Regions from separate parts of the Homo sapiens genome. Here regions 2, 3 and 4 are each linked to region 1. Evidence: promoter capture Hi-C in 16 types of primary human blood cells and fetal thymus (Javierre and others, 2016). All regions are on one chromosome and are shown on one strand. Each heading gives the region's core, a stretch centred on a gene start or on the middle of the fragment in contact. The rest is flanking DNA. Distances are from core to core; before and after follow the strand shown. Region 1 holds the start of MSRB2 (methionine sulfoxide reductase B2). Region 2 has its middle 28 kb from the start of DNAJC1. Region 3 overlaps MLLT10 (MLLT10 histone lysine methyltransferase DOT1L cofactor). Region 4 overlaps DNAJC1 (DnaJ heat shock protein family (Hsp40) member C1).

Region 1 (6,377 bases), core at 1,372-3,871:
AAAATTTATGAAAAACTTATAGCTAATATCATACTTAATGGTAAAAGGCTGAATACTTTTCCTCTAAGATCAGGAACAAGACAAGGATGTTCACTCTCAACATTTCTATTCAACACTGCGCAGGCTCTAACCAGTGCAATAAGGCAAGAAAAAGAAATCAAAGACATCTGTATTAAAAAGAAAGAGTAAAACTCTTTCTACACAGATGACATGATTTTTCTATGTAGAAAATCTGATAAAATCCATAAAATGTTACTAGAACTAAGAAATGAGTTTAGAAAGATTACAGAATACAAGATCAATATACAAAATCTACATACTAGCAATCAGAAATTGAAATTGATAAAACAATACCACAGCATCAAAAATATGAAATGCTTTAGGATGAATCTATCAAAAGATGTGCAAAACCTATACAGTGAAAACTACAAAACACTACTAGTAGGTGTTAAGGAAGACCTAAATAAATAGATAGGCATATCTTTATTCATGGGTCAAAAGATTCAATATTGTTATGATATTAATTTCCCCCAAACTTATGGATAGAATCAATGCAATCCCAATCAAAACTTAAGTAAGATCATGTGTAGAAATTGACAGACTGAATCTAAAATTTATGTTGAAATACAAAAGACCTAAAATAGCCCAAACAACCTTAAAAAAGAACAGAGGTACAGTACCAATGCTAGCTGGTTGCAAGTCCAGTCATCAGGATATTGTAATATTGATGTAAAAATAGACAAATTAATTAATGGGACAAAATAGGAAGTCCAGAAATAGACACAACACATTGATAGGAAACTGATTTTTGACAGATTCAAAAACAGTTCAGTGGAGAAAGAGTAGTCTTTTAAAAATTGGTGCTAGGAGCCAGGCCTGGTGGCTCACGCCTGTAATCCCAGCACTTTGGGAGGCCGAGGCAGGCAGATTACCTGAGATCAGGAGTTCAAGACCAGACTGGCCAACATGGTGAAACCCCGTCTCTACTAAAAATACAAAAATTAGCCAGACGTGGTGGCACACGCCTGTAATCCCAGCTACTCAGGAGGCTGAGGCAGAAGAATTGCTTGAGCCTGGAAGATGGAAGTTGCAGTGAGCCAAGATCGTGCCACTGCACTCCAGCCTGGCCGACAGAGACTCTGTCTCAATCAATCAATCAATCAATCAATAAAAATGGTGCTGGAACAACTGGATATAGATATGCAAAAAACAAAACAGATAAACAAAACAAAACAAAAATTTTGGCCATATATAAAAATTCTAAATCGGTCAGAGACCTAAATGTAAAACCTAGAACTATAAAAATTTTAGAACAAAACATAGGAGAGAATCTTTGTGATCTTGGATTAGGCAAAGATTTCTTAAATATGATACCAAAAAAAGAACAATCCATTAACAAATTGATAAATTGGGCTTCATCAAAATTAAAAACTGCTCTTCCCAAGACAATATTAGGAGACAGAAAAGACAAACAAGAGACTGGGAAAAAAAATCTTTGTAAAGCATATGTTTGATAAAAGATTTGCATCCAAAATATATAAAGTGTTCTAAGCTCAATAATGAAACAACTCAACATTAAATGGGCAAAAGATCTGAACGGACACTTCACCAAGGAAAATACACTCGCTGCAAATACGCACATGAAAAGATGCTTAACATCATTAACGATTAGAGAATGCATAATAAAGCCACAATGAGCTACCACTACACAGAACCGGAACATCTACAGTTAAAATCTCTGGACTTTCAAGTGTTGGCAAGGATGAAGAACAACTGGAACTCGCATAGACTGCTAGTGGGAAGGTAAAGAAAAAAACCACTTGGGAAAACAGTATAGTAGTTTCTTAAATGGTTACACCTACCTTACGACCTGGGCATTCCACTTCCAGGTATTTACCCCAGAGAGGAAAAACCGTATATGTCTGTACAAAGATTTGCACAGGGATGTTCCTAGCAGCTGTAGTTCTAATCAGGAAAAATTGAAAGCAGGCTAAATCAAGTGCTGACTAAACACACGGTGGTATATCCATAAATGGAATACTGCTCAGGAAGCAATGAATGATTGTTCCATGCAAAAACACGCAGGCATGTCAAAGTAACTATGTTGAGTGAAAGAAGCCAGACAAAATCAAGTACATATGGGATGATTCCATTTATGGACGACTCTAGAAAATGCAAACTAAAACAGATCAGTGTTTGGGCTGCGGATGAGTGGAGTTGGGATAGGTGGAGGGGGGCAGGGCGAGGGAGGAGCAGGAGTGGGAGGAGCTGGGAGATGCAGAGATGGGTTGGGGAGGGTCTCATGGAAGGGAAGGGAGAGAGGAAGGGGGAGAGGAAGGGGGAGGAAAGGCAAGGGGAAAAGGAGAGGAAGAGGGAGGGGGAGAGAGAGGCAGAGTGGGAGGAAAGAGGGGCGGGGACCTGGGAGGGCCCAGGGCACATAGTGGGAGGAGCAGGTGGGAAGGAGGGAAGGAGGGAGGGGCAGGGGAGGGAGAAGAGGGGGAGGGAGACGAGGGGACTGGCGGTGTGGGCGGAGCGTGGGGAGGGAGGCCGACTAGCGCAGGCGGACGGGAGAGAATGGGGGAGGGGTGGGATGGGAGCAGGGGCAGAGACGGGCAGAGGGCAGAGGGCGGAGCGGCGCCGGAGCGGGCGTCATGGCGCGGCTCCTCTGGTTGCTCCGGGGCCTGACCCTCGGAACTGCGCCTCGGCGGGCGGTGCGGGGCCAAGCGGGCGGCGGCGGGCCCGGCACCGGGCCGGGACTGGGGGAGGCAGGTAGGACGCGGGTCCCGCAGGCCCCGCCGCCGCCTACGGCTTTCGGCTTCATTTCACCGGCTGCACCCGGGAGCCTAGGGCCGGTCCAGGCCGGGCGCTGCCCTCCTACTAAGCCCTCCTCGGCGCGCCCCTCCCCCCCCCCAGCCCGAGGATCTGGGACAGTGGATTGTAAACTTGGTGGCGGCAGGGTGGGGACTGACCCCTGTGAGAATCCGAGGAAATGAACAAATGATCCCCCTAAATGTGCGCATAATTTTTTTTTTCTTGGCTCGGGGAGTGGGGGCATAAGTGGGGCTCGGGGGCCTCTGACCCCTATCGGGGACTCCAGGCGAAGGCCCGGGGCCTGGGCTGTAGCAGCCCGGCCCGCGCGCCCCTGCGAAGGCCCCTAGTATTTTGCATTGCAGCCCTCTTCGTAGTTCCGCGGGCTTCCTTCCAGCATCTGAGAAGCAGGCAGTTCAGACTTGGGGTTCCTGTGAGTGTTTCCTGCCCTGCTGACTTCCCATAAATGTGTCTAAGAGCCAGGGAGACTGGGTTGATCATTTGTTCCTTCTTTAAGGTGACAGCCATTGTTAATGACTGAGACAGAGACCAGGGCGAGCCTGTGTGTGTGTGTCTCTCTCTCTCTCTGTGTGTGTGTGTGTGTGTGTTTCTGCTAAATACTTTTGGATCCTCTCTTGGATCTGGGTACCTGCACATTTCACCAAGCAGGAAGGAGTCACCTCGGGAGACCTGTGCCAGCTACCCCTGTATTTCAGTTCTATTTCAGGGTAACTTAGTGCCCCAGGGGATTGGCTTCCTGGGCGGTTGCCAGACTGACCCACTCTGAATCCAATTTTATATGTGTTCATTGAAGACATTCAGAGATACCCAACTGATGAAAATGTACCAACTCATTCTGAGCTCTTTTTAGCCCCTGAAGTTTTCGAAATGCAATATTGAAAGAATACGTAACTAAATAAAAGCGTTGGCGTTGTGGAATGTTAGCTCATCCAACTTGACTTCCAGCTATGGCCTTTCTAATCACTGGTGTCTCTAGTCAGTCTGATGACATTTGCTGTGAGCCTACTGTGTGCCAAGCATTGTATTGCTGAGAACCACAGGTGATAGAAACAGGTCACAGTTACCGACGAGCTCTCTATAACCCCTTGAAAAAGGATGGTGGTTTTAGCGGTAACTACTTCATGGCTGTAATTGCTGCTGTCAGAAGCAGCCTAATGAATTGCCCTGGGATCTGAAGTTCTCCAGCAACAATAAAATTTGGCCAGCCACCAGTAGGTAACAGGAGCTGTGTACCTTATCAGACACCCCTCCTGGGAATCTATTCGAAGGAAATAGTTCAAAAGAAGAACAAAGAGATATATGCAAAGATGCTTTAAGCACTAGTCTCTTACAAAATGGAAACTGGCTGTAACCCAAATCAGTTAAGAAATACTTACGTAAATCATGAAAATTCAATCCAACAAACTGTTAGGCAGCCATTAAAAATGATAAACGGAGTATTTCTGTGGTGAAGGGCTTGGGTATGAATAGATGCAGATTTTGAGTCTTGGCTCTCGGTTACTTCCTGGCTCTGTGTCTGAGCTCAGGCTGCTATTGCAAAACACCGTGGACTGGGTGGCTTCAACAACATTTTCTCACAGTTCTGGAGGCTGGGAAGTCCAAGATCAAGGTGGGAACAGATTTGGTTCCTGATGCAGACCTGCTTCCTGGCTTGCAGTTGACTGCCTTCTCACTCTGCCTTCAGGTGACTGTCTCAGGAAGGACCACTAATCCCTCAAGAGAGCCTCACCTTTATGATCTAATCTAAAACTAATAACCTCCCAAGCCCCACCTCCACATTCCATCTCATTGGGAGTTAGGGCTTTAGCATATGGGAGTGGGGAGAGGAGCAGGGAGAACATATAATATTCAGTTTGTAACAATGTCTTTGGACATGTTTCTTGAATTTGGAAAGTTTAAACTTCAGATTTTTTTTCCTTCTGTCAAATAAGGATAATGATAATGGTAGGGTTGTTGTAAAGAATAACTTTTTAATTAAATATTTTGTTACAATGCTTGACACTTAGGCACACAATAAATGTTAGTTATGATTACATAAATAAGTGGAAAGGACAAAAATGTAGCTACATTTAACTTACATCATGGGCTTCGGGAGTGTTGAGAGAGAGGGAGACATTGGGAGGGGGGAAATGAGAAGATATTGAAATGACAGTATTTTTTTCCAGTGCTGCAATTTCTCATATGCTTAGAGTGATTTTTTTTAATCCAGATTGACAAAGAGCAAACTGAAAAAGGAAAGTAAGAAATATTCTGGAGCAAAAAATCTGTTGCTTCAGGAAAATATTCTTTCTAGAGATGACTATGCTAGGAAACTGTCCTGGGCATAGGGTTAAAATAGTCCAGGCACTGGTGGGAGAGACTAGTTCTGCAGATCAGAATGGGCTGGGGATTCTTTTAATACCAGTTTCTAAAGAGTTCCATTAGATTCAACACATTATTTATCAAAATGGAGTGGGCTTATGTGTGACAATTGGCAGTATAGCAACTGTGGCCAGGAAGGTTAGCAAAACCCGAAGGAGGCACCCAGTAGGTGACCATAGGACCAAGAGTGGATTTCCTTAGGGATGAAAAAATCGAGGCCCACCCCGTAGAACTTCTGACCAACAAAATATATGGCCTGTGCAAATCACAGCACACAGAGAGAAGGGAACTCCAAGGAATTTGAGTTTATTAAGGCATAATTCAAAGTAAAGCTGTGTAGTTATCTCATGCAATAGCAGCAACCGATAAATGTTTTCATAGTGAAGATAGCAAGAGAATGTAGAGGGAATCTGGAAAATGTGTAGCCCCCAAAGGATGAGCACGTGGTGCAGAGGACAGAAAATACCTGCACACACACAGAAAAGGACACAGCCAGTGTTGAAACCTCTCTCTAGCCACGGTAGCCAGAAGACTTGACTCATTCCCAAGTGAGAGACCTTGTCGTGTATCTAATTTACACGTGCCTAAATTGCTGTTTGATAAAACTGCTCAGAATTTACTCATACTGTAATTTTTATTTAAACTTTGGTTGTTTTCTAAAGCCCCAGTGTGTTCATTTGCTAGGGATCCCATAACAAAATATCACAGGCTGGGCAGCTTAAACGATGGAATTCATTTTCATACGGTTCTGGAGGCTGGAAGTCCAAGGCCAAGACTTGTCCTGAGATTTGTCCTGAGACCTCTTTCCTTAACTTGGGGATAGCTGCCTTCTTGCTGTGTCCCCAGGCGGCCTTTTCTCTGCTGTCCCTTCCTCTTATGAGGACACCAGTCTTATTGGACCAGGGCCCCCTCTTAATGGCCTCATTTTGACATGATTGCCTCTTTAAAGGCCCTGTCTCTAAATGCAGTCACATTTTAAAGTACTGGGGATTAGGACTTCAACATATGAATTTGGAAGTTGGCGGGCAGGGAGTGTCACAATTCAGCTCATAACATCCAGGTCAAAGAAACCTCTTAAAGTGATACAGCCCACATATAACCTGACCTGGGTGTACCCAACTGAGCGTTCATCATTTTGCTATCAAAGCAAAGTCTGTCTGCCCTTGACTGAGCCTTCTAGGCTGGCA
Region 2 (6,377 bases), core at 712-3,211, 1.1 Mb before region 1:
TGGTTAATTTTCAGAGTTATGAAAAGTTGAATTTGACAGTTGTTTTTTTTTTTTTGCCAGTGTTCTTGTTGCTTTTATGGAGAAATAAATTTTCAGAGGTTCTTACTCTGCCATCCTTGAACTATTGTCCAGGTCCCAGTATTATTTTTTTAACTTTTTATTTTGACAAAATTATGAAATCACCTGCAGTTGTAGGAAGTAATACAAAGAAATCTCATATACCTTTTACTCAGTTTCTTTTCATGGTAACAGCTTGCATAACTAGAGTACAATATCCTAACCAGAAAACTTATACTGCTGCAAACTATTGACTTTATTCAGTTGTTACCAGATTTGCATACATTCACTTGTGTATGTGTGGTGTGTGTGTGTGTGTGTGTGTATGCATAAGTAGGTGTGTTTAGTTCTATGCAATTTTACCACGGTTAAGTTACATAATGGTTCTATCACAACGATCCTTCATGTTATTCTTTATTCCTTCATAGCCAGTCATGTCAACTCTTCCCCAAACCACCACTCCTAACATCTGTTCTCTAAGTCTATAATGTCATCTCAAGAGTGTCATGGAGTATATCATTCAATGAAATATCATTTGGCAATTAAAAGACAGTACTGACACATGGCACAACATGGATGAACCTTGAAAATATGCCACGTGAAAGAAGCCAAGCACAAAGGATCACACAACGGATGACTCCATTTCTTTTTGAAATGTCCAGAATAGACAAATCTGTAGAGACAGAAAGGAGATTAGTAGTTGCCATGGGCTGGGTGGGATGGGGGGAATTTTTGGTGATGGCTAAGTGATCTAGAAGGGAGGGCTTAATAAAAATGTCCTAAGATTGATTGTGGTGATGGTTGCACCTCTGTGAATATACTAAAAGCCATTGAATTGTACACTTTAAATGGGTGAATTACATGGCACGTGAACTATATCTCAATAAAGGTGTTTTTTAAAAAAAGAATGCAATGGAAATAGAGTCAGACAATAGGTGACTCTCTGAGACTGGTCCTATCATTTTAAAGCAAAAGTTTGGTCCCAGAGAAAGTATCTGTTGCAGATGTAGTAGATACATAATAATACAGTACAGAAAAGTTAGATATGAGCTATCATAGTTGAGTGTGGTAAGAGGTCACTTGGCATGGTCAGAAGGAAGGGGAGAACCTGCCAGCTCTCAGAGGAGTCTAGGTGGGATTACCATGCACATATAAATACAATCCAGGTGGGTCTCTTTTCAAGTCTACTCCAAGGATGAGATTTCTCAACTCTTTCTGGAACTGGACCCAAATGGGATGGATGAAAATAAGCTGTTTCAGCTCAATTCAGATAAGGCTTTTATTGGAAGAGAAAGCCAACAACGATAGAAATTTACACATACACTGAGGTTCACCGCCTCAGCTGCTTCTAGATTCACAGATAAAAACCATAGAGCAGAGTTCCTTTCTGTACTTGGCACAGAGATTAAACACCCTCATATGTGGCTCTTATCTTGTTTTGTACTTTTACTTCCCTCCGCACTAGATCATTACAAAGCTTTCTACTGGGAGAGACACGTTTCTAGACCTTATGTAATTATTTTCTGGTAGAAATGGAGTGACTCATTCAACTATAGAACGCTGTCCCTTGATCAGTGTTATCGTGGTTACTCACCATCGATCAGCATTCAGTAGAAGTAAGCTTGATTGCAATTAGCCTTTGTAGATCAGTGCATGATATAGTTTCAAAGCTAGAAATTTGAGAATTGAACATTTTCAAAAAGAGCTCCTAAAGGCAAATCCTTTAATAATTTCAAAATATCAAGAACTCACAATTTTCTGAGATAGATAGCTTATATGAATGGTCTCTATTTGAGAGAGAGAGAGAGAGGTAAAAGGTTATTTGCCGTTACTCTGACACTGGGTTCCTGCCCATTGTGTATTGCACTTTCACAGTAGAACAAAACTGCAAGAGTAATTAATCCTTAACTGGCTAAATAAACTCTCTCTCACAGAGCATTACCTTCTCTGACTTTAGAGATATTAACTACCGTAGAAATGTTTCACAAACGTGGTATTTCATGAACGTTAGAACAGAGTTCATTCTCTAAACCAGGGTTGGCAAACGTTTTCTGTAAAGGGCTAGATATTAACTATTTTAGATTTTGTGGACCACGTAGTCTCTGTTGAAACTAATCTACTCTGCCATGGTAGCCCAAACACAGCCATAGATAATAAGTAAATGAAGAGGTATGACTGTGTTCCAACGAAGCTTTATTTGTGAACACTGAAGTTTGAATTTTATATCAATTTCCACTGTTATAAAAATGTTGTTTTGATTTTTTTTCCAAAAATTTTTTTTTCTTAGTTCACAGGCTCTATAGAAACAGGGATGGAGCCAGATTTGGCCTGTGGGGCTTCGTCTGTCTGCTCCTGCTCTAACTGATGGAAGAGTAAAAACATCATAGGCTGTACAGAAGAGTGGTTTGGAAGCTGTGACTTGGTATCAGGCAGATATGAGTTTGAATACTGGCTTTTCCACTCACTAGGTGTATGACCTTGGGCAAGTTACACAACCTGTTTAAACCTCAGCGTCCTCATCTATAAAAGTGAGGATGATAACAGCCACTAATAGGAATGCTGTAAAAATTAAATGAAATAATACATGTATGTTTAGCACATACATGGTCATAGTGAATGCAGTTAAACCTACAGCAAGTGTCATGAGAAGTACAAAGCCTTTCCTTTTCTCAGATCTGTATCCGCACCCTGGAATTCATAGAGGGATATTTATCAAGACAGTATGGATCAGGCCAAATCTTAGAGTCATTCCTGAGTCCTATTCTCTTTTCCCCCCATTCAATTCAGCAGCAAATCATGTCTTCTCTAACTTCAAAATTTTCCCAGAATCTGACCATTTCTCCACAACCATCACCCTAATCCATGCCACCATCAACTCTCATCTGGTCTTTCTGGTTCCACCCTTGCCTCCTCTCACCTAATCTCTGCAGAAATGCTTCTAAAATATAACTCAGATTGCTTCATTCCTCTTCCCCAAACCCTCTAATCATTCATGCAGAGGAAAATCCCAGGTCCTTACCATCTAAGCCCTCTGGTCTCCTACACTCTTCCCCTTGCTCCCTCAGCCCCAGCCAGAGTGGCATCGTTGTCCTTCAAAACTGTCAATCCTGCTCCCACTTCCCACTTAATATTTGTTGGTATGTCTGTCTGGAATGTTCTTCTCCCAGATAACAAAGTAGTTTCAATTTTACTAGTTCCCTCACGTCACTGCCCAAATATAATATTATTAGAAAAGCATTTCCTGACTCTCCTTAAATGATCTCATCCTACTTGGTGGTCATATTACCACCTCCCACTATATTTCATATTTATTTGTGGATTGGATGCCTCCCCCTTCTAGAAGGTAAGCTCATGAAAGCAGACTTTATGTATCTTGTTTACAGCTGCATCCTCAATGTCTAAAACAGTGCCTGACACTGAGTAGTTTCAAATTTGTTGAGTGAATTAATAAATGACTTTTTGCTGCTCTAAAATTTTCTCAAGTTCGTGAGCTTCTTGAGTATTATTCTTATATTCATTAGATTATATGTTTTGCTGTGTATAAGAAACAGATTAGAGAGAAATTAATTTACTTATTTATTACTCAAGATTCTGGAGGTAGGAGATTTAGATTCCAATGTCTGCTTGTTACCAAGTTCCAAAGTCACTTCCACATTTTCAGATATCTTTATAGCAATGCCCCATTCCTTGGTACCAATTTTCCATTTTAGTCTGTTTCCGCATTGCTATTTAAAAAAATACCTGAAGGCAGGGTGTGGTGGCTCATGTCTGTAATCCTAGCACTTTGGGAGGCTGAGGTGGGTGGATCATTTGAGGTCAGGAGCTCGAGACCAGCCTGACCAATATGGTGAAACCCCACCTCTACTAAAAATACAAAAAAATTAGCCAGGCATGGTGGCATGTGCCTGTAGTTCCCAGCTACTGGGGAGGCTGAGACAGGAGAATTGCTTGAACCCGGGAGGCGGAGGTTGCAGTGAGCCGAGGTTCTGCCACTGCACTCCAGCCTGGGCAATGAAGTGAGACTCCGTCTCAAAAACAAACAAACAGACAAACAAACCAACAAAAAAACACAAAAACACCTGAGACTGGGTAATTTATAAAGAAAAGAGGTTTAGTTGGCTCACTGATATGGTTTGGCTATGTCCCCACCCAAGTCTCGTCTTGAATTCCCTCATGTTGTGGGAGGGACCCAGTGGGAGGTAATTAAATCATGGGGGCAAGTCTTTCCCATGCTGTTCTCGTGACAGTGAATAAATCTCATGAGATCTGACGGTTTTATAAAGAGGAGTTCCCCTGCACAAGCTCTCTTTGTCTGCTGCCATCCATGTAAGACATGACTTGCTCCTCCTTGCCTTCTGCCATGATTGTGAGGCCTCCCCAGCCATGTGGAACTGTGAGTCCATTAAACCTTTTAACTGTATAAATTACCCAGTCTCAGGGATGTCTTTATTAGCAGTGTGAAAATGGACTAATACACTCATAGTTCAGCAGTCTGTACAGGAAGCATGGTGGCTTCTGCTTCTGGGGAGGCCTCAGGGATCTTTTACTCAGGAGATTTGTCCAGGTAATGAGGCTTCCTCTAATTTGTTGCTATGATTTCTAAAGTGTGTTGTCCTTTTCTGAATGATCCACAATGGGTCTCTATTATATATATACTTATTTCAAGCAGCAGGAAGGAGGAAGAGGTGGGAAAGCCACACATAGACTCTATTTAAGGATACGTTCTGTAAATTGTACGAAACATTTCCACTCACTTCTCATTGTAAAATTTTATCAAGTCCAGGCATGATAGCTCATACCTGTAATCCCAGCAGTTTGGGAGGCCAAAGAGGGAGGATTGTTTGAGCCTAGGAGTTCAAGACCAGCCTGGGCAACGTGGCCAGACTCTGTCTCTATAAAAAAACAAAACTTAGTCTGCTGTGGAGGCTGTAGTCTTTCTTTTCAGTAGCCTTATGTCCAGCTAAGAATCAGTATCTCTATTTCTGTAAGGGAGGAGCAAATATGCATTGGGAGGGGGTTAGTCTTTGTTGTAGTTCTCTGTATATTTTTTTCTCCTCATTTCAAAAAAATGTAGCCAAACCTAGGAGGCCCTCACTGAGTCCTGATTCTTGGCCCAAGTGCTGGAGAAACTGCCTGGATAGTCAGTATTCCTTCGCTATAGTAAGATGCTAGGAAACTGGCTTTTTGTTGAATTGGGTTTATTAATCGAATTGATAATTCATTTTCTTCAGATTTACATTCCAAAAAAAGGAAGTGTTTTCTGAATATTTGAAATTATCTTTCTTAGTTTGCATAGCTTAGTACCTGATATCCTCTGAAATAGCCATTCTGGGTTAGCTTCACGGGCCTGTGACCTATGCAATTACACAGGGCTCCACACTGGGTCAATGCTCTTCTGTCTCCATCTTGCAGTTCTTAATAATGTTATCTTTGAATCTGCGCTTTGTAAGTGAAGTCCAAAGGGAAAATGCAGCGTGCACCTGAGCAGAGGCTGAATACATGTAATACACATGCCATCACTGGCTGGCCTTTTTGCATATAGAGTTGAGATACCCATGAACACAGAATGCCAGTGGACATTCAATGGATGGGAACTGTGAGACTCAAAGCACATATAAGTAAGCGTTTTATATGTCTTGACTGAGTGAGCTGGGCACTGGCAGCCCTGGGAAGCCAAGCTTTGTGTTCAAACCTTGCCTCACTTTGAATCCTGAAAGAAGGCTGTAGTGTTCCAAGCAACACAAATAACTGACTAACTCTATGATATCCTACCTTACTTGTGTTACTTCTCCATGTGAGTCAACTACTTTTGCTGAAAAGGATGATGTACAAGAAAGGGAAAGATAGCTCCTTTTCCTTTCAGTTCTTCTTAACGTCAGTAAGTCAAAAGTAGAAAGTGTTGGTAGAACATGCAGGCATTAAGAAGTGAAATAACAACAGTTGAGTCAATTTTGTATGGTGTTGTTCTGTTAAGAACAAAATACATAGGCGTGTGAGAACTACAAAATACAAATTGTGTAAGTTCAGCAATTCTGCATACGAATTAAATGCTCTTATATTTATATTGAAACCGGCTATGCACAATATAAAGATGAATGCTAAACCATGATAATAATTTACAATTTTAATTTTTCTTTACTTAAAGTGATGTTTTCTTTACTTAAAGTGACAAAATAAAAAGCACCATGGCCTGTTGAGAGAGCGAGACTGCAGAAGAAAGGAAAAGCTTTATAGTATTTTACCATCTTTTATGGTACGTTTCTCTCTTGCTTTTTGAACAAGTCCTGCATTTTCATTTTGCACTGGGCTTTGCCAATTAT
Region 3 (6,652 bases), core at 3,781-6,280, 1.5 Mb before region 1:
CAGTAAAGATTCAGAAAAGTAAAGGAGCATTTTCAGAAAATTTAGGTACTATATAGAATGAACTTGAAAGGGAAGGTTAGAGATGGACTTAGGATGCTATTACTATAAAGATGTGGGAATACAAAAGGAGTAGAAAAGAAGGGAGCATTTTGAAGTATGAAATGACAGAAATGGATGTTAGGTAAAGGGAAGGGAATAATCAAAGATGATTCTTAGATATCAAGGTGCTCACTCATTAATGGTGATACCATTAATAAATATTAGAGCAGTTGTAGTAGAGGAAGGAGAGCAAGTGAAGACTAAAGAAAGACCTGTTTTGGGCATGTTGGTTTTGATGCTGCTAAAATTTTTGTATTGGAGGCCGGGCGCTGTGTCTTATGCCTGTAATCCCAGGACTTCGGGAGGCCGAGGCGGGCGGATCACCTGAGATCGGGAGTTTGAGACCAGCCTGACCAACATGGAGAAACTCCGTCTGTACTAAAAATACAAAATTAGCCGGGTGTGGTGGCACATGCCTGTAATCCCAGCTACTAGGGAGGCTGAGGCAGGAGAATTGCTTGAACCTGGGAGATGGAGGTTGTGGTGAGCCGAGATCGCGCTATTGCACTCCAGCCTGGACAACAAGAGTGAAGCTCCATCTCAGAAAAAAAAAAGATTTTTGTATTGGAAATTTAGGATACAGTTACAGAGTGAAGTCAGAGTTGAAGCTGCATAGAGGGAAAACAGGGAACCACATGCCTTTTTTTTTTTTGCTAGAGAAGAGAAATGTTCACATTTGGGAGAGTAAGAGAACTGATTATCAAGGATTGATAGTGAACTGTCAGGAAAAGAACCTAAAAAGTACAGTCGCCACAGAGACAACTAGGTGTTCAGGAAAGAAAAGTTGATAGTGACAGTACTGCCAGGAACGCTGAAGGACTAAGAAAAGTTTTTGAGACAGCTAATACAGCTTCCTGGTTTGGGTAGAACCCTGGTTGTAGGGCATGGAAGATAGAGGATTTGATTGTTGTGTGGAAAGTATAAGGAAAGAGAAAAATTAAAGGAGATGAGGTTGAGGAAAGTTTGGTTTTTAAGGGAAGTTCTTTGTAGATAGACATTGATTGTTTAGAAAAAGCACCGTGTCTCCCAAAACAAAAAAATTAAACACACTTTCTCATGACTATTTTTGTATGTATGTATTTAGAGACAGGGTCTCGCTTTTTGCCCACGCTGGAATCAGTGGTGCGATTTTAGTTGACTGCAACATCGAACTCTGGGGCTCAAGGAATCCTCTCACTTCAGTCTCCTGAGTAGCTAGGACTATAGGTGCATACCACTATGTCCGGCTAATTTTAAAATTTTTGGTAAAGATAAGGTCTTGTTATGTTGCCCAGGCTGGTCTCGAACACCTGGCTTTAAGAGATCCTCCCGTGTTGTCCTCCTAAAGTGTTGGGATTTCAGGCGTGAGCCACCATGCCTGGCCTATTTTTTATTTAGTGAGCATTTGTTCTGAATTACTGCAGGCTGCAGTGACTTATTAGAAATTTATCTACTTACATAATTTTGATGAGATACAGAAGAATTTTTAAAAATTAAATTTAATTAATTTTTTTTGAGACAGTCTTGCTCCATCGCCCAGGCTGGAGTGCAGTGGTGTGATCTCGGCTCACTGCAACCTCTGCCTCCTGGGTTCCAGTGATTCTTGTGTTTCAGCCTCCTGAATAGCTGGGATTACAGGCATGTGCCACGATGCTTGGCTAGTTTTTGTATTTTTAGTAGAAACTGGGTTTCACAATGTTGCTCAGGCTGGTCTTGAACTCCTGGGCTCTAGTAGTCCCTCCTGCCTTGGCCTCCCAAAGTGCTGAGATTACAGGTGTGAGTGACCGTATCTGGCCAGAGAGGACATTTTAGATTGTAAATATTCTACTTTTTTTTTTTTGAGATGGAGTCTCACTCTGTGGCCCAGGCTGGAGTGCAGTGGTGTGATCTCCGCTTACTGCAACCTCCGCCTCCCAGGTTCAAGCGATTCTCCTGCCTCAGCCTCCCGAGTAGCTGAGACTGCAGGCACGCCCCACCACTCCTGGCTAATTTGTTTTTTTTTTTTTTGAGACAGGGTCTCTGTCGCCCAGGCTGGAGTGCAGTGGCGCAGTCTCAGCTCACTGCAGCCTCTGCCTCCTGGGTTCAAGTGATTCTCCTCCCTCAGCCTCCCGAGTAGCTGGGCTTGCAGGTGCCCGCCACTGTGCCTGGCTAATTTTTTTTTTTTTGAGATAGAGTTTTGCTCTTTCCCAGGCTGGAGTGTAATGGTGCAATCTTGGCTCACCACAACTTCCGCTTCCCGGGTTCAAGCGATTGTCCTGCCTCAGCCTCCCAAGTAGCTGGGATTACAGGCATGCGCCACCACACCTGGCTGATTTTGTATAGTAGAGACGGGGTTTCTCCATGTTGGTCAGGCTGGTCTCGAACTCCCGACCTCAGGTGATCCACGTGCCTCAGCGTCCCAAAGTCCTGGGATTACAGGCGTGAACTCCCATGCCCGGCCCTAATCCTGGCTAATTTTTGTATTTTTAGTAGAAATGGGGTTTTACCATGTTGGCCAGGCTGGTCTCAAACTCCTGACCTCAGGTAATCCTCCTGCCTTGGCCTCCCAAAGTGCTGGGATTACAGGTGTGAGCCACCCCGCCTGACCCCTTCATTCTTTTATTTTTTTTAATTCTCTGCTGATTTGGAGGTCATATGCTCTATTTCTTTTATTTTAGTGATTGCACTTAAAGTTTTAACATGCATACTTAATGTTTTTCTGAGTCTTAATATCTGTACTCCGTTTGAACAAAACAAAGGTCCTTGGGACGCCTTGATTCCTTTGGTTCTTTTTCCCTCGCACAATCTATGTTATTGTTGTCTTTATTACTCTGCTGTTTTCTTTTTTTTTTTTTTTTAAGATAGGGTCTCACTGTGTTGCCCAGGCTGGTCTGGAACTCTTGGGCTCATGTGATCCTCTCACCTTAGCCTTCTAAGTAGCTGGAATTACTCCATCTGTTTTTTTCTTTTTTTTTTTTGGTGATAGAGTCTCACTGTCACCCAGGCTGGAGTGCAGTAGTGTGATCTCGGCTCACTGCAACCTCCGCCTTTCATGTTCAAGTGATTCTCATGGGTTCAGCGATTCTCATGCCTCAGCCTCTTGAGTAGCTGGGACTACAGGCACATGCCACCTTGTCCGGCTAATTTTTGTATTTTTAATAGAGATGGGGTTTCACCATGTTGGCCAGGCTGTTCTTGAACTCCTGACCTCAGGTAATGTTCCTGCTTTGGCCTCCCAAAGTGCTGGTATTACAGGCGTGAGCCACTGTGCGTCTTATTTTGAATCTTCTAAATAATCGTGTGTTTTAAAAAAATAGTTATTTATAATTAGGCTTAATATTACTCATGTTTTTGTTCAATCTAGCCTTTTATTTTCCTTGTTTGTGGGTTCATTTTTTTTACTTTGAAGGTTTTGGTATTTTTTTCTCAGGGTCTGAGGCTAGTAAGTAATAAGTAAGAAAGTTATATTAGTCTTTTTGTGTCTACGAATTTCATTATTTTGCTCTCTTGGAAGCTAGTTTGAATCCTTTGATAATAGCTATTTTCCTGTAACTAAAGATTTTATTCTAGTTTGTCTTCTGGTGTCTGTTGGTTGATAAACAATCTTTTGAGTTTGTTTATCCTGTTTGAGACTTGGTCTGCTTTTTCATTCTGAGGACTCAGTGTCCTTCCATTTTTTATTTTCTACTCTGTCTCTTCAAATACTGTAACCTTCTCATTAACTTTTCTTTTCCTAGAACTGTTAGGTATATGTTTGGGATTTTCATTCTGTTTTTCATGTCTTTTAATTTGTCTTTCATATTTTCTATCTTATCTTTTTTTTTTTTTTTGAGACGGAGCCTCTGTTGCCCAGGCTGGAGTGCAGTGTTGCGATCTCGGCTCACTGCAAGCTCCGCCTCCCGGGTTCACGCCATTCTCCTGCCTCAGCCTCCTAAGTAGCTGGGAATACAGGTGCCCGCCGCTACGCCCGGCTAATTTTGTGTATTTTTAGCAGAGACGGGGTTTTTCCATGTGAGCCGAGATGGTCTTGATCTCCTGACTTCATGATCCACTCACCTTTGCCTCCCAAAATGCTGGGATCACAGGTGTGAGCCACTGTGCCCGGCCTTTCTGTCTTATCTTTGCATTACTGATAATATCTTTAACTCTGTCTTCAGATTTATGCTTATTTTTAATTCAGTGAATTAATTTTTTTCTGAGTAAATTTCTAGAATTTTTGTGTGATTTTATTTTTCAATTTGTCTCTTTTTTCAGGGTATCTTGCTTTATTGTTTGAAGAATTATATTCGTTTTTTTATTTGAACATTTAAAACATACTTATTGTAAAGATTCTCAGATTTTGGAATTCTTTGTTAACTCTGGTGATAGATGTCTTTATATATTGTGTAATTTTTGACTGCAGGCTAATCTTCAGGTGGAGTTGTCTTTCCTGGGATTCCTGTTCCTCTACCATGAGTTGTGAAGATGTCACTGTGGGGTTTTTGCCTTTGCTCTCTGTCTTTTAAGAATTGTGTTTGGCCGACCAGATTATAATGGTTTCTACAAGTCAGGAGCTTATTCCTTTTTTTTTTTTTTTTTTTAGACTTGAGTCTTGCTCTGTCACCCTGGCTGGAGTGCAGTGGCGCAGTCTCGGCTCACTGCAACCTGCACCTCCCGGATTCAAGCAGTTCTCCTGCCTCAGCCTCCCCAGTAGCTGGGATTATAGGCATGTGCCACCACTCCTGGCGAATTTTTTGTATTTTTAGTAGAGATGGGGTTTCACTGTGTTTCGATCTCCTGACCTCGTCATCCGCCCGCCTTGGCCTCCCAAAGTGCTAGGATTACAGGCGTGAGCCACTGCACCCGTCCAGTTATTCTTTTACTTAAAAGCAAAAGGCATTTTGAAGCTTCGATGACAGCTCTCTTAAGTCACTAGGGAGTATGCTTTTTCTATCTTCCTTCTGTATCAGCCTTAGCACATAGTTTTCATGTTCAGGGTTATCCCATAGTCAAAGCATGGCAGCTGGAACTGCAGTCATTGTGACTACAAAAGAAGTCCCAGGCAGAAAGAAGGGGAGAGGGTAAGCTTCAAGTGTGGTCCTCTAACTGAGTTGTACTCTTTTTTTTTTTTTTTTTTTTGAGAGAGTGTCTTGCTCTGTTGCCCAGGCTGGAATGCAGTGGCCGCGATCCTCTACTTCCCGGGTTCTCCTGCCTTAGCTTCCCGAGTAGCTGGGATTACAGGTGTGTGCCACTATGCCTGGCTAATTTTTGTATTTTTTGTAGAAATGGGGTTTCGCCATGTCGGCCAGGCTGGTCTCAAACTCCTGACCTCAGGTGATCTGCCCGCCTTGGCCTCCCAAAGTGCTGGGATTACAGGCGTGAGCCATCGCGCCTAGCTCTGAGTTGTACTCTTAAACTAATTGTCCTTGAGGCTCCACTCAACAACTTAGGCTTAATTTTACTGGCTCTTAATTGTTACTGAGCCTGCAAAATGTGGTCATAAAGTTGGGCCCATTGATAAACTGGTTAAAGTGAGAGTTCTGTTAGTAGGGAAGAAGGAGAAAATAGACTTGGATTGGTAGCTGCAGAGTCTGTTACAGTTTGCCTAATGGGGTTCATTGCTCCAGGCCAGTCTCTAAGTTTGTTTCTTGGCTTGGATTTCTACATCCTTTAGATAATAGATTTTGGGCCCCATACCTTCCCTCAGTATCCCCTTGGATTTCTAGAGTGAGTCATCTACTCACATCTGGAGCAAGCATCTAATTTCTGTGCAGCTTCCCTAGTCTTAGTAGTCCAGCACATGGTTTTCTAGAGTCTCTTCCTGTTATGACATGGATCCTTATCAGCTCTTGTCCTTATATAGGGAACCCAGTTAGAGCTTTTCTCCATATCTTTAGTCTATGTTGCTGTCATAGTCAGTCCTACCCTCTAAGGTATTGTTTCTGATAGCTTCGTTAACTGCCCCAGCTTCAATTTAATACTGATTCCTTTAGCTTTTTGTTTGTTTTTGAGACAGGGTCTTGCCCTGTTACCCAGGCTAGAGTGCAGTGATGCAATCTCAGCTCACTTCAACCTCCGCCTCCTGGGTTGGAGCGATTCACCTTCCTTAGCCTTATGAGTAGCTGGGACTACGGATGGGTGCCACCAAGCCCAGCTAATTTTTGTATTTTTAGTAGAGACGGGGGTTTCACATGTTGCCCAGGCTGGTCTCAAACTTCTGACTTCAAGTGATTTGCCTGACTCAGCCTACCAAAGTGCTGGGATTACAGACGTGAGCTATGGCGTCCGGCCTTATTTAGCTTTAAAGTTCTTTTTTATTTCTGCCACCTGGAGAGTTACCTTTATTCACATAATTAAAAATTGTTTTCAGATTTCTTTTATCTTTAATTTTTTTTTTTTTTTTGAAATGGAGTCTTGCTCTGTCACCCAGTGCAGTGGTACGATCTTAGCTCACTGCAACCTCTGCCTCCCAGGTTCAAGTGTTCAGGTGATTCTCCTGCCTTAGCCTCCTGAGTAGCTGGGATTACAGGCACGCGCCACCACGCCCGGCTGATTTTTGTGTTTTTAGTAGAGACGGGGTTTCACCACGTTGGTCAGGTTGGTCTCGAGCTCCTGA
Region 4 (6,214 bases), core at 1,253-3,752, 1.1 Mb before region 1:
TACTTAGTGTTCTGAATACCTTCTTTGCTGCTCTCATCTGGTTTTAATTAAGAAACACTTTCAAAGGAAGAGAGGTTATCCAGAAACTCAAACTACACATGTCCTTCATTAAACTATGAATTGATTACTATTCAACTTTTTTGGCCTAAAGGTTTTTTTAAAAAGTTAGATTCACCTCAAGTTTCTTCTAGATAAATTATGGGAAAATTAGGGAAAGAGTAACATATTTAGATGGGCAAAAATATAATAGGGAAATCTTAAAATGCACTGAAGAGGTCCATAAATTAGCTGCTGCATAAGCAGCTTTATCTATATTACAGTTTATTACTTTTAAGAGAAACTTTGAATCTTGAAGGACCATACAATAAGATTTTTTTTCAAAAGACAGTAATAGATTTATTGCTGGAAACTGTATTCATCTTCCTGATTCCAAAATACAGTCATGTATCTTCTTTATCCATATTTGAGAACCAGGATCAAATTTTTACATAGCCTACAAAATCTAGAAAAGTATATACCAACCAGGCATGCAACATTTGGTAATGAACATATTGTAAAATGTTGGCATATGTAAAAGGCTTTGATTCTATGAGGTAGGGCCAATAATAAAAGCATGTGATTGTTCAGTCGTAAACTAAGGCAATCCATACAAACATTTATTAACTGTTACACTGTCTTTTCCCTACTACCCACAGGTCCTGAAAGTACCAACATCATCCCACTGTCATCTGAAATTACATGCCACATCTTCTTCTGGCCAGTTATTTGTCACTGAATCTTTGTAGTAATAATTCCTAAGACGCTAGTCAAATAATAGGAAAATGCCAACAGACCATATTAGTGGGGGAGAGTTAAAAGGAATATGTACATACTGTATTTCTTAACCCATCAAAAATCAACAGAAGTCTGAAAAGGTTACCCTTGCATTTTAGGAGTAAGCGATGTTTTCCAGTTCTGTTTTTTTTCTCAGCTCTTCCCACTAAGCAACAAAACGCAAACGAGCTAGAGAATTCTGCCTTCCTTATGCTACAGAGGCTATGTTTAATGACTCCTGTGGCCATGTTAAAATCAGTGGAGGAAGAGACAAACACTGCAGCTTCTGCCTTTCTCTAAGTCTTCTTGAATGCCGCCGGCCCACCCACTAGGCTCCCCTATTTCTCTTTTCTTCCGTAACAACAACAGCACAAACATTGCAAAAGCAACCAATCAAAACAAGTAGCATCAGTAAAGGGGCAATGGGGCCAATGGTAAGCAACAGAAGCAAAAAGCAGTGACAGTCTCCAATTTGCTCTCATCAATGAGTCAGAGCATACTAAGGCTTCTTTGTACGTAGGTAGAGAACATGGTGGACACTCACACTGCTGGCCTCTTACTCTCCCGGCAATTCTCACAAACACAAAAGTAGAATCCTAGGACTCAGTACTTAAATACCAGAACAACATTCAAGACCTTATCTTAGCAATTTTTTAAAAAGAAAACTACCACACTTAAGAAATGAAAAAAACACACACACACACACAAAATGACTATGCAAGTAAACTTTTATTATGTAGCTAAAAGCTGCAATTTAGATAGTCTAATTAATCTACAAAGCTCAGTTTCTATAAAACAACTATTAGCAGGTTTTCTTCAAGAATTTACTCCTTATTTTGTAGACATCCACGTGAACTAAAATATGAATCAAAATAACAACTCTAAAGGAGAAATAATTTCCCAAAGTAGTAATTACTAACTAAACCCAAGAAAAGACTTGTGTGGCTTAAAGAAGTACAGATATCTCTCTATTTATAGGCTGAACACCCTAATTCCAGAAGCCAATTTTGAACTTGAGTTTAGAATTGATTCCCAGTGCAGGGGACCAAAATATACATGCCCAGGCGCCAACAGTCAATTATTAAGCTTTTTTCACATTAAATAAAAGAAAAACATCTTAACACATCCAATACATATTTAAGTTAAGAGTCAGGAGGCTTATGTTATAGTGCAACCCTGCATATGAACATTATATTATTTTAAATCCCCACTTCCCCACCTGGATAGTGAGGGTTCCTAATCAGTGTTTTCTCTCTTTTGGAAAGCTGATGTGATTGTCTAATATAAAAATTCTTTGAAAAACCTACAGAAAAATAATAAGTAAATTTCTTTTCAAAGTGACAAGGGAAAAAAAATCTATGCCCAAGATATTTTTCTACATTTGTACATCAAACCAATATTTAGATGATATTTAACAGCAAAAAGTTTTTTAACAATAAGAATGTCTGTTTTTTATATAGGAGCATTTGACTTATTTTGTAATTTAGATAAGCTTCAATAGTTTCTCTTCCTAAAGCTCTTTCACTCCTCACAAGTTCTTCCATCTATCTCATTCCTCATCATCCAAATATATATAGATTTTTCTTAACTTTTTAAATAGGTAATACAATATTCAAAAAGTACTTATGAACATAAAAGTTCCTGGCAACCAGTCACCCAGAAGCACATCTCCATCAAGAGGGAAATTTGAACAGAGGGAGAGAGAAACATGCAACAACATGCAAACTCTTTAAGAATTTCCATTATTTCTTGAAGCAACATTTTGTAGAACTAATACACTGATAAAGTATAGAATTTGAAAGCCTCTCCTTTCAGTAAAGTGGGAAAGTCGATTAGCAAGTGAAAAGATTGGCTCAGAACCTAGTAAGACAGGGGTCAGCAATTTCTTAAGCTTGAAGTGCTTTCAGTAAAGCCAGACAATGCTAGGGAATAGCACACACAGGCCTAGTATTTACAGACAACATGTGGCAGTCTATCAGTTGATTACATTTTGTCTTCCAATACTATCAAATTATTTCCTGTATGTAAAAGGCAGGAATCCTACATTTCTGTCAAAGATTCCACAAAACCTGGCAGTGCTAGTGACTACTAAAGTAGATGAAGAAGTAGAATGAGTCACAGGAAAAAGAGGGAAAAGACTGGAAACATACACAAACTTCCCACAAGAGCTGATACAAGACCCAAGAATCCTAAGGTAAAAATACTTTTAAAAACTGTATCATGAAGCCACCATTTATTCAGAGTCTGTAAATTCAGTAAGTGATATGTTTATACAATGTTATCAGAAACATCTAAGGCTATAAAAAATACATATATAGGAAATACCGACTCTGGCTAAACACACTGTCACTGAGGTGTAATCGGTTACTCAGATTATTACAGATTAATTACCTCTATGACTTTTTTAATTTGAATGATCTTATATACAATTAGTAAACAGCGGAATGATATTCTTATAATGCAGAGTTAGGTATGTAAGTTCGACTTGATTTTTTTTTCCCCTGGCACATTCATTTTTTTTTAATGATCCAAGATAAGTTTTCTTGCAATTAAAGACAAAACCTTAGTAAAATATGAAGATCTTTTAAAAAAAACCAGCTAGAAATCTATTAGACGTGCCTTCTATTAATATAAGTAGTAGCTGGTTTTGTGGCTTCAAGAACTTCTATGGTTTCTACTATGTAAAGCTATCTGATCAATCTCTGAGTGCAGCTCAAGAAGCTGCAAAGACATTTCCTTCATTTTCAAAAGGGCTCTTATCTGAATCATATGTATTTTTATTCAACTGATCTAAAGAATCTATATCCCAAATAAGGAAGCATGAGAACAAGGGTTTAAAGGATTTTAAGAACTATGATGCCAGGTTAAAATGCTAGAGGAGATTTAATTGATTTTTTAAAGTATTATTATTTTCATGAGTGCTTATAAGGTTCCACAGATTTTGAACGCTGTACCTCAACCCTATTTTTCCCATAGGTACTGTTATTTTTAGGGTGTGACTTTGCAGAATATGAAGCCATATATGGTTTTACAGTGGGAATACATGTACTTGGATCTGGTCTACCTGGATAAAGTAAGAAATAATGGAAAGTAAACTAAAGACAGAATACCTGTAAAGGAGATATCCTTATTTATAATTTTTCTTTTTTTTTTTTTCACCATGGCTTTACCTTCTGCAAGTCAATCCGGCTAAGGTACAATGGATAAAACGATTATCAAGCTTCTCTTTCTTACCTACCCACAGCAAACTTTGTTCCAGGCCTTTGACACCTTCATTGTTTTTGATAATAATCAAAGCTTTCTGCTCCTATGACTTTTGCAGTCATATGTCAAAACTGCATATGTCTGCTCCTATGACTTTTGCAGTCAAAAGTCCTATGACTTTTGCATTCTGCTTATTATGAATCCTGTTCAGAGTTTATTTTTGTCTTGTTCCCCAGCTTATTTTTCCAGAATCAAAACATTAACAGAGTTGCGGGGCTGGAAAGTCCTTAGGTTATCTAGTCTAACTTTACACTATTCTATATTATTAGCTACAAATATCTACTGACCACAGGGCTAAACAAGTGCTAGAAATGGCAGTGAACAAAAACAGGCACAAAATCCAGATATTGAACAAACTATATACACATATACACACATATATTTCCTAGTTCTGTCCATTAAGAAGTAATTTCCTACAAAGAAATTAACAAAGAGAAAATAGTAATTTTACGGTGGAGAAACCTGGCAGACACTTAACCAAATGATCAAAGTTAACATCATCTGTGATGAGATATATGGATATCATGTGCCTCCTGATACAATACACTGAAAAGGGCACACCACTTCCATAGTATTTATAACAAACATGCATAGTTTGAATTTAATCATGAGGAAATATTAGACAAACCCAAACTGTGGGACACTTTAAAATATAACTGTCCAATATTCTCCAAAAGTGTCAAGGTCAAGAAAGACTGAGGAACTGTCCCAGAGTGGACATAAATGAGATAAAACAACTAAATGTGTGATTCTGCACCAGGAAAAGGATGTTAATGGGACAGCTGGAAAATCTGAATAACATCTGTAGATAACACTGTAACAGTGTTAATGTCCTGGTTTTTATCAATTTATTAAGGTTACATCTGAGAAAGCCAGGTGAAAGGTATATGAGAACTGTATTATTTTTGCCACCTTTTGTTAAGCCTAAAATTATTTCAAAATGAAAAATTATACATAAAAAGTTTTAAAATATATTTCTTAAGTCTAATATTTGAAGTCAGTGATCACATATTTCCTTAGCCTTTCCTTTTCAGACTAAATGTGTTCTTCTTTTTGGGCAAGATTCCCAGAAACCCTACTGTATTTGTAGCTCCCCTTAAAAAAAAATTCAGTTTGTTAATATTCCTCCTTAAGTGTGGTACCAGGAGTGTTTATAATACATTGATGGAGATTGCATTAAATTTCTCATTTTCTGTGATCAAGTCACTCTCTGTTTCTATGTTTATTAATGCAAATTAGAGTTGAATTTTAAAAGCAGATGCATAATGCTGTTGGCCTAATTCAGCATGTAAACAACTAAAACCTGAGTGTTCATCTTTACTGAAGTCAAACCAGATCTCCCCGTTTTATATTTGTGCAAATGATTTTCTCAAGCAAAATGTAGAATTACATTTTTCCCTGATTACTTCCATCCTTTCAACTCATAGTTTACGATGGTATGGAGACCAGTTAGATTATTCTGAATGATAATTCTATCATTTACTCACTTGGCATGTATTCAGCACATACCATTTGCGGTGTACTATAAATTAAGAATCTATTAAAAATTTGCCATGGAATTGAGAGCAGTCATATCTGATTGGAAGAGCAAGCAATGGAGAAAATCTTTAATAATGGGATTAAATTTGGGCTGGGCCTTTAAGAATAGGTAACATTTAAATAGTAAGAAACAATTACAAAATAACAGTTATGATCTTTGAGCCTAACAGATAAGCTCCACAAGTTGTTAGTTTTCTGAGACTGGGCAAGTCTCTGAAATTCAATTTCCTCATTTGTAAAATGGGGAAAAAATGCCTTACTAAGTAGGGCTGTTTTAAAGATTACATGAGATAATATGTGTATTCAAAAACAGCCTTTTCAGCAGACGGTGCCAGGAAAACTGGATATCTGCATGCAAAAGAATAAAATTGAACCCTTACCTTTAACAAAGACTGTCTCCTTGACTAAACTCTAGTCAGGCTCCTCTAAACCATCTTCACAGCTAGGCCTCAACCTTTGAACTTCTATCTCCTCCTTTGCATCGTCCAATTTTAGCAAGAATTCTGCTAAGAGAGTTAAGCCAGAAACCCTACCATTGATATCCGATCACCCTCAATATATCTGACCAAATTCCTCATTCCCCACCAACCCCCAGGCG

Evidence for each region. Contacts are between HindIII fragments. The CHiCAGO score rates a contact against its expected background, and 5 or more counts as called.
Region 2: a contact is called between a fragment that was not itself captured here and the fragment with the promoter of MSRB2 in region 1, in 3 of 17 cell types (total CD4 T cells, naive CD4 T cells and fetal thymus). The highest score is 8.2, in total CD4 T cells.
Region 3: a fragment that was not itself captured here is called in contact with the fragment with the promoter of MSRB2 in region 1 in 1 of 17 cell types (naive B cells); the score reaches 7.7 in naive B cells.
Region 4: a fragment that was not itself captured here is called in contact with the fragment with the promoter of MSRB2 in region 1 in 1 of 17 cell types (total CD8 T cells); the score reaches 5.4 in total CD8 T cells.

The regions. Positions count from the first base shown.
Region 1 is chr10:23,092,958-23,099,334 of GRCh38, forward strand. MSRB2 (methionine sulfoxide reductase B2) reads left to right here and starts at 2,622. Exons shown (of 5, transcript NM_012228.4): 1 at 2,622-2,769. The coding sequence starts at 2,652. LOC107984215 (a long non-coding RNA gene) reads right to left here and starts at 2,322. Exons shown (of 3, transcript XR_001747394.2): 1 at 1,863-2,322. RefSeq lists a silencer at 2,430-2,899. The HindIII fragment of the contact is 9,169 bases long and covers 1-6,377 here.
Region 2 is chr10:22,028,110-22,034,486 of GRCh38, forward strand. No RefSeq gene overlaps it. Among named protein-coding and RNA genes, the nearest start is that of DNAJC1, 28 kb to the left of the region's middle. The HindIII fragment of the contact is 570 bases long and covers 1,677-2,246 here.
Region 3 is chr10:21,544,505-21,551,156 of GRCh38, forward strand. The region is part of intron 3 of MLLT10 (MLLT10 histone lysine methyltransferase DOT1L cofactor); the gene reads left to right. Among named protein-coding and RNA genes, the nearest start is that of MLLT10, 14 kb to the left of the region's middle. RefSeq lists a silencer at 6,569-6,652. The HindIII fragment of the contact is 179 bases long and covers 4,942-5,120 here.
Region 4 is chr10:21,975,757-21,981,970 of GRCh38, forward strand. All of the region lies in intron 1 of DNAJC1 (DnaJ heat shock protein family (Hsp40) member C1), which reads right to left. Among named protein-coding and RNA genes, the nearest start is that of DNAJC1, 25 kb to the right of the region's middle. The HindIII fragment of the contact is 399 bases long and covers 2,304-2,702 here.